Linked DNA regions of Homo sapiens: all the other regions are linked to region 3. Evidence: promoter capture Hi-C in human tissues and cell types (Jung and others, 2019). All regions are on one chromosome and are shown on one strand. Each heading gives the region's core, a stretch centred on a gene start or on the middle of the fragment in contact. The rest is flanking DNA. Distances are from core to core; before and after follow the strand shown. Region 1 overlaps GPATCH8 (G-patch domain containing 8). Region 2 overlaps GPATCH8 (G-patch domain containing 8). Region 3 holds the start of FAM171A2 (family with sequence similarity 171 member A2).

Region 1 (2,700 bases), core at 200-2,699, 84 kb before region 3:
CCTAACCTAAGGTCATCCACCCGCCTCAACCTCCCAAAGTGCTGGGATTACAGGCGTGAGCCACCACGCCTAGCCCAGGAAATGATATTTTAAATATCCCCTTGCCCCATTTTTTAATGCAAATAGAATGGATCAGGGCTAGAAAAACATTCTTTTGGACCATATGAATAACAGGCTTCTAAGAAAATTACCTTCATTATAGTAAATAGGGTGGACAGTTTTTTTTTTTAAATTTATCCAAAATGTATTGGTTACACTAAAGTAGTATAGTGCTGTTTATTTTTTTTTTTTTATAGTCTTAGCCTTAGCCTAATTTACATTGTTTCCTATCTTAGTATTCATAGACTTTTGGACCTAGGTTAGTTTGCCTTATTAAAATGACACTGGGTTAGTAGGATACTTAGGCAAGAGAGTGGAGTGTCCAGGAAGCTTCTTAAGTGAGCAAAAGGGTATATAGTGATAGTGGTTTGTTTCTTCTTCTTCTTCTTCTTCTTCCTCTTCCTCTTCTTCTTCCTCTTCCTCTTCTTCTTCCTTCTTCTTCTTCCTCCTTCTTCCCCCCCCCCCCTTTTTTTTTTTTTTGGCTCACGTGATCCTCCCACCTCAGCATCCTGTGTAGCTGTAGCTGGGAATATAGGCATTTGCCACCATGTCTGGCCAATTTTTAAATTTTTTTCATAGAGACAGGGTCTCCCTATGTTGCCTAGATTGGTCTGGAACTCCAGGGCTCAAGCTGTCATCCTGCCTCAGCCTCCCAAAGTGCTGGGATTATAGGCGTGAGCCACCATACCCAGCCTGTAATACTTTGATTATTGATCATAGATAATAATTTTCTCCATCTGTAAATGGGGTTGTTTCATTACCATCAAATTGTATGTAAAACATTTGGAAATTATCACAGATTCTGTTTTAGAGTATCTTTCATTTTAAGGTATTTACTTTCAAAAATGCCAAATTTAAATTAGCCGGGCTTGGTAGTGGGCTCCTGTAATCCCAGCTACTCAGGAGGCTGAGATAGGAGAATCGCTTGAACCTGGGAGGCAGAGGTTGCAGTGAGCTGAGATCACGCCACTGTACTCCAGCTGGGGCAACAGAGTGAGTGAGACCCTGTCTCACAAACAAACACCCCCAAAATGTCTAATTTGGAAATAAAAGGAAGACTAATTTCTTTATTTTCTGAACCCTTGAGCGTTCTGCATAGTGATTTAAAGTTTACAAAATATCTTCCATTTGTTGTCTCTTTTGGTCTGTATGCCAGTCCTAAAAAGGGGGATGGGGTAGGTGTGGTGTGATGGCTTATGCCTGTAGCCCTAGCTACTTGGGAGGTTAAGGCAGGAGGATTGCTTGAGCCCAGGAGTTTGAGGCTGCAAGTGAGCTATGATTGTGTGACTGCACTCTAATCTCCAGCCTGAGCCATAGAGCTAGAACCTGTCTTAAAAAAAAAAAAAAAAAGGTGGTGATAATATTTTCATTTTGCAGAGGAGGCTGCTGAGACTCAGGCTCTGCTTGCCAAAAGTCACACAAGTGTCTAGCTATTATCTCTTATTGGAGAGCTAAGCTTTGCAGCCCAGTCTTTTTTAGGGATTGCCTAGAAAAATATAGGAAGAAGTTTATTGGCTGGGTGCGGTGGCTCACACCTGTAATCCCAGCACTTTGGGAGGCTGAGGCGGGCAGATCACGAGGTCAGGAATTCAAGACCAGCCTGGCCAATATAGTGAAACCCTGTCTCTACTAAAAATACAAAAATTAGCCAGGCATGGTGGCACGTGCCTGTAGTCCCAGCTATTCAGGAGGCTGACTGAGGCAGGAGAATTGCTTGAACCCAGGAGGTAGAGGTTGCAGTGAGCCAAGAGTGTGCCACTGTACTCCAGCTTGGGCAACAGAGTGAGACTGTCTTAAAAAAAAAAAAATTTTTTTTTATTAAACATGAAATGGAGGCCAGGTGCGGTGGATCACACCTGTAATCCCAGCACTTTGGGAGGCCAAGGCGGGCAGATCACTTGAGGTCAGGAGTTCGAGACCAGCTTGGCCAACATGGTGAAACCCCATCTCTACTAAAACACAAAGAAATTAGCTGGGCATGGTGATGCATGCCTGTAATCCCAGCTACTCAGGAGACTGAGGCAGGAGAGTCACTTGAACCTGCGAGGCGGAGGTTGCAGTGAGCCAAGATTGTGACACTGTGCTCCAGCCTGGGTGACAGAGTGAGACTCAGTCTTTAAGGAAAAAAAAATAGATGAAATGGAGGAGTTGCAGTGGAAAGTTAAATGAGGCTGGAAAGTTTTGGGGTAATGGAGTGATCCTGGAATAGTAAAATTTTCAGTGTAGCTATGGAAAAACAATAGTAAGTTTAAGAAGGCATTTGATTGTTGGCTTATTATAGTATCACAAGACTGGCTGCTGTCTACATAATCCCCCCAGATATTTTCTACTCAAATATTTTCCACTCTTCAAACTTTAGAATTGTGAAGTGAACCTTATAGATTTGTCTAACTCCTTTATTTTTAAGACAGAGTCTCACTCTGTCGCCCAGGCTGGAGTGCAGTGGTGTGAACTCGGCTTCACTGCAAGCTCCACCTCCCGGGTTCACACCATTCTCCTGTGTCAGCCTCCCGAGTAGCTGGGACTACAGGCGCCTGCCACACGCCTGGCTAATTTTTTGTGTTTTTAGTAGAGACTGGGTTTCGCCGTGTTAGCCAGGAT
Region 2 (2,768 bases), core at 210-2,709, 110 kb before region 3:
ATAATTCTGTGGATACTCAACAGTAGCAGTAAATTTAGATGAAATTTGCAACCTAGTATTCATTATTACGATACTTAACAAATATTTTTTAAACCACTAAATTAAATGATATTTAACATATTTTAAGCCTAGAGGGCTACACTGAAATATTTTTGGAAATTTCATTCCTATGGCACATGAGGCTAATGCTATTTTACCTCTCATAATGTCCAGGACTTTTTCTGCCACATATAGCGAGAACAGTATCAGAAGGCAGTCTAATTGAGTAATCATTGTTGAATAATCTCATTCAGTGGGAGTAGAATTGATAATATGCCTTATTTATTAAGTAGTGCTACCTTCTTCACTTAAAATAGCAAATAGTATATAGTACTCAGGCTGGATATTTAATTTTTTTAAATAAATGAATGTTCAGAAATGTATATTAGTAATTACACTTCTAATGAAAATTTACTTCTGAAAGATAAATATATGCATTATTTGTGATGAGATAGTTTAGGTTGTAGGAGAGAACTTCATGGCCTACATTGTATTAGGTAGAAGTAGGGCACAGGATCTGGGAGAATAAACAAAGATGCAAGAAAAAATAAGAAAAAAAAAAAGAAGTATTGACACACAAGATAAGAGGGATCTTATTTCTGTTGCCTGATCATTTGTGAGTAAAATTTTAAGTGTTTTTCTCTTTTTTCAACTTTTTTTTTTTTTTTTTACTTTTTTTGGTCACAGAAAATTTTAAGTTTTAAGAGAAACTCCTACAGTGATTGGCATCAAAGTAGGTAGTGTTCCCTCCCTCCCACCAAACAAAAGAAGTCCCTTATCACCTGAGGAATGCCCACTAAATAATAAGTAAATATTTAATTACATGGCTGGCTGGCTATATTAAGCTGTTTTGTTTTTAGGGGAAAATGGTGTTACTTCTAACACAGAAAGAGTGCTGAATTAAAATCTTTCTCTGCAGCAATATCTATTGAGAGGTGCTGACTGTTTTGCTACAGCATGCAACTCAAAAGTGGCTGAAAATATGCAGCTTTGGGAGTCTACAGATCATTGCAGGAGCTAAAGGTCTAGTCATTTTTTTTTAACCAAAGGTAATCTGCAGCAGCTGGTAACCGTGGAGGTCTCTGCACAGGTTTGTGCCAAGAATATGCCTGTGTGAAGGGTTATTGTGAGTATAGGATTAAGGTCTTTTTATTTTGTAGTAGGCTAAATTTGATGCAAACCAGCAAGATGGGAAATGAGACATGAAGATGCAATAATGTATTATGCTTTTAGTGAACTTCCGAAGCTTAGATTTGTTAGTGAGATATTGGTATTTCAATTTTATTAGGTAAATGTTGAAAATATATCAAAATCCAGTATTTGTAAAGCATTTAATAATATTTTTTGAAGTTTAATTTTCCCTTATTTGCTTCAACCAACCAGATATCTTTCAATGAGATTTTTCCTCAAGAATGAAATATCTTTTTAAGAAAATTATATGAGAATTGCTAAACAACTTGATTATCTCTATTAAAAACAAGTTGAAAAGTGTGAACATTTTATCCCTATTACGAGAAGCTTTGAATTTGAATTTTAAAAATTGTTATTGCTTTATGAGATATTTAGGTCTCAAATGTTATAATTATAACCTCCACTTACTTAAAGACAAAATATTTACAAAACAAAGCTTGATCTAAAGCCATAGCTCCGTCTAGGATTCAATCACAGAAGAATTAATTGGTGTTTTTTAGGATACACGGTCCTTTATGACCTTTATCATAGTTAGAAGATGAGGAATTGGGCGCAGGGGCTCACGCCTGTAATCCCAGCACTTTGGGATGCTGAGGCGGGCAGATGACGAGGTCAGGAGTTCGAGAACAGCCTGACCAACATGGTGAAACCCTGTCTCTACTAAAAATACAAAAAGTAGCCAGACGTGGTGGCACATGCCTGTGCATGTGCTGGGATTACCCAGCTACTCAGGAGGCTGAGGCAGGAGGATTGCTTGAACCTGGGAGGCAGAGGTTGCAGTGAGTCGAGATCACGCCACTGTACTCCAGCCTGGGTGACAGAGCGAGACTCCGTCTCAAAAAAAAAAAAAAAAAAAAGCGCTGGGTGCAGTGGCTCACACCTATAATCCCAGCACTTTGGGAGGCCGAGGTGGGTGGATCACAGGGTCAGGAGATAGACCATTCTGGCTAACACGGTGAAACCCCATGTCTACTAAAAATACAAAACTTAGCCGGGTGTGGTGGCACACGCCTGTAGTCCCAGCTACTCAGGAGGCTGAGGCAGGAGAATCGCTTGAACCCAAGATCGTGCCACTGCACTCCAGCCTGGGTGACAGAGCGAGACTCGATCTCCAAAAACAAACAAACAAAAAAAGATGAGGGATCAGATGGGAGAATGACTTTAAGCTATATAGAAGGCAGAATGCATGCATCATAGACTTAAAACATGTTGTTACTGTTGTGGTTGGAAGTGCAACTACCCATCAGCCGCTAGTCGGTCCTTGCTCTACCTGACTGATTAAAATTCTTTCTTTATGGTTGTCAGGATGACCTAATAGGTTTAAAAATGTAGTGTAAGCTTCAAACTCCAGTTGCTGATGTTTAGTTTGCGCATCTTAAGGATTTGGAAGTATATGTATAATTGGGTTTTGTGATGTTGCATATCTGTCTAGATCTGTGGACTCCACTAGTTCCAAACTGTAATTCTTTATAAGACTGCTGATTTGACATTTAGCAGTGACCATATGTGGACTGCACTAGAAATAATGTGCTTCTTGG
Region 3 (2,700 bases), core at 158-2,657:
CCTCTGACAGACAACACAGTGATTGAGAAGCACCTGGGGAAGTTTGGTGTCGTTTGCTTGGAAGACCTCAGTCATGAAATTGCCGTCCCAGGGAAGCATTTCCAGGAGGTCTCATGGTTGTTACGCCCTTTCTACCTCTCAGTGGCCCGTCATGCTACCAAAAATACAGTGGGCTTCCTCAAGGAGATGGGCACACCTGGCTATCAGGGTGAACGCATCAGTCAGCTCATCCGCCAGCTGAACTAGACCCAGGTGCCAAACTGCAGTAAATTTTTATTAATGAAGTGGAAGCATGGGTAGTAGAAGCATGTGTTTTTGTTTTTTTGGGAATTTTTATCAAGTATCTTCAGAGAAGATTATTTCCAGCTTTATCTTCAAAAACTGGAAAGGAAGGGTCAAAGAAAAGACAGAAGCTCACGCCTGTAATCCCAGCACTTTGGGAGGCCGAGGCGGGTAGATCACTTGAGATCAGGAGTTCGAGACCAGCCTGGCCAACATAGTGAAACGCTGTCTCTACTAAAAATACAAAAATTAGCCGGGCATGGTGGCGTGCACCTGTAGTCCCAGCTACTTGGGAGGCTGAGGCAGGAGAATCACTTGAACCCGGGAGGCAGAGGTTGCAGTGAGCCAAGATCACGCCACTGCACTCCAGCCTGGGCAACAGAGCAAGACTCTCTCTCAAAAAAAAAAAAAAAAAAAAAAAGAAGGAGAAGAAACAGTAGCTTATGTTCATGGCAAGCACCTCTAATCACAGTCCAGTTTCCAAGGAAAAATTCCAGCGTTTTAGTTTAATGTCGGTAAGTGAGTAACTCTAGCATTTGTACAAGGCTCCCTAAGACTCCTGCACCAGTCGGCCAAGCCCAGGGACATAATTGAATTTGGAGATTCTTGGGGCCTTGTTTTGAAAAAGACTTGAAATAGGAAGAAAGGCCCAAAAATAAATGTTCACTTGTCTCTGAAAAAAAAAAATCTGTCTCAAAAAAAAAAAAAAGAGAGACTTAGGGGGGTCTAGGGGGCCTTCCCTGCTATCACCCCAGCACTGCCTAGGTGTTCTACCGGGAGAAGGGGGCCATCGAGCAGGGAGTTCTTACAGTTTTCTGAGACTTTCATGACCGTACCCCTTGAGAGTGTTGTAGGCAATATCCACTCCCCACCTACACACACACAAATTTTGCACCAAATTTTGGGGACTCTCGAAACCCAAGAACCCGGGTGATGGGACCCTAATCCCGACACTCCTTTGCAGCGCAGAGTCTGGGAGCGCAGAGCGCGGGGGCTGCGGGGTGGGCTGAAGGTGGGCAGTACCGGGGGGCGGCGGGCGGAGCGGGGCCGGGAGGGGGCGGTGCCGGAGGGCCAGCGGTGTGGCGCGCCGCCTGCAGGGGGCGCTTGCGGCGGCTCCGGTCGGAGACAATCGCGCTGAGCGGGCGCCGCAGCGGGAGCGGGAGCCGGAGCTGCGAGGCGCGGCGCAGAGCTGGGGCTGCGCGGGGCCGGGCGAGCGGGACCAGGCGGGAGCCATGGACCGCTAGGGCCCGGCCTAGCCCCGCGATGCCGCCGGCGAGTGGCCCCAGCGTCCTCGCGCGGCTGTTGCCGCTGCTGGGGCTGCTGCTCGGCAGCGCCTCCCGGGCTCCCGGCAAGTCGCCGCCGGAGCCCCCCAGCCCGCAGGGTGAGTCTCAGCCGGGAGGGGCCGCGATCGCGGGCCTGCGCCCCCTGATCAGGCTCCCGCCCGTCAGCCCCCTCTTCGCGGCGTTCGTGAATTGAGTGGTATTCTGTTCCCTGGATTCGGGTGGGGGGAGCTAAGCGATCTGGGGTTGGCGCTTCTGGGGGAAAGTGGAGGCGGGGAGAGGGAGGCCGTCCGGGGCGGGGGTCTTGGGGAGACACAATGGGTAGTGCGAGGGTCCCCAGGATCTGCGCCGCCGCCCTCTCCCTATTTGTTTTTCTCCCTCCTGGTCCGCGAGGCGCTGCTGCCTGAGCCATTGTCTACCGAAGACACCCGCCCAGGGGCGGGCTGGGGCGGGCGCCTGCTCCGCAGCCCCCTGCGGGTTGCTCGCTCCCGACCCTGGCGGGGTGGGGGCGCCGGCATCCGCTGCCACCCTAGGCCGGGACCGGAGGCTGGGAGCCTGGAGCTGGGTTTGAAGGGGGGAGGGGAGAAGGGGGAGTGGGTGAGGCTGTGGGCGGGATTGACTGCTCTAATGGGGTTCTTTGCCCTGGAGCCTGACAGCTCCCAGCCAGCCCCCCTGGTTTAGAGTTTGGGGTGCACCAAATAAATGCTTGTGAGCCTATGATGGAGGACGAGCCGCAGTTGTGGGCCTCTAAGAAAAGGGGGTACATTGTGATTCCCAGCTGAGGGAGCATGGCAGGCTTGTGGTCGTGGAGCCATGCTGAGCTAGCTGGCTGTGGGCAGTGCCGGCTGGGAGGGCAGGTGCCTGGGTCCCCCCCCATTCAGCAGGCCTCCTGGCATTCCTGTCCCCTGCCCGCCCCCATATCACCCCCTCCTCATCTCACATCTTCGCAGTGGAGGAGACCCTTCCCAGCGACTCACCGGGCGCAGGTGGGTGTGTGAGGTGGGGGTGGGGCCGGCTCCTGCAGCAGGAAAGGGTGGGGGAGCAAGACCCTGACAACACATCCCACAGGCAGGCCTGGACGCTTGGGGGCCTCCGCCCACTCCAGTCCTGAGTCCACCTCCCGGGTCCTGCTCTCCCT

Evidence for each region. The method cuts DNA at HindIII sites, captures the fragments that hold promoters and counts their contacts. A contact is called where the count stands out against the background at its distance.
Region 1: a contact is called between a fragment that was not itself captured here and the fragment with the promoter of FAM171A2 in region 3, in 2 of the 25 tissues and cell types used here (heart right atrium and mesenchymal stem cells).
Region 2: a contact is called between a fragment that was not itself captured here and the fragment with the promoter of FAM171A2 in region 3, in 6 of the 25 tissues and cell types used here (IMR-90 fibroblasts, dorsolateral prefrontal cortex, heart left ventricle and 3 more).

What each region holds. Positions count from the first base shown.
Region 1 is chr17:44,446,369-44,449,068 of GRCh38, reverse strand. The region is part of intron 3 of GPATCH8 (G-patch domain containing 8); the gene reads left to right. Among named protein-coding and RNA genes, the nearest start is that of GPATCH8, 56 kb to the left of the region's middle. The HindIII fragment of the contact is 4,364 bases long and covers 1-2,700 here.
Region 2 is chr17:44,469,814-44,472,581 of GRCh38, reverse strand. All of the region lies in intron 2 of GPATCH8 (G-patch domain containing 8), which reads left to right. Among named protein-coding and RNA genes, the nearest start is that of GPATCH8, 32 kb to the left of the region's middle. The HindIII fragment of the contact is 3,729 bases long and covers 1-2,768 here.
Region 3 is chr17:44,362,560-44,365,259 of GRCh38, reverse strand. FAM171A2 (family with sequence similarity 171 member A2) reads left to right here and starts at 1,407. Exons shown (of 8, transcript NM_198475.3): 1 at 1,407-1,663. The coding sequence starts at 1,546. It also overlaps the pseudogene RPL7L1P5. RefSeq lists a silencer at 1,316-1,695. The HindIII fragment of the contact is 16,504 bases long and covers 1-2,700 here.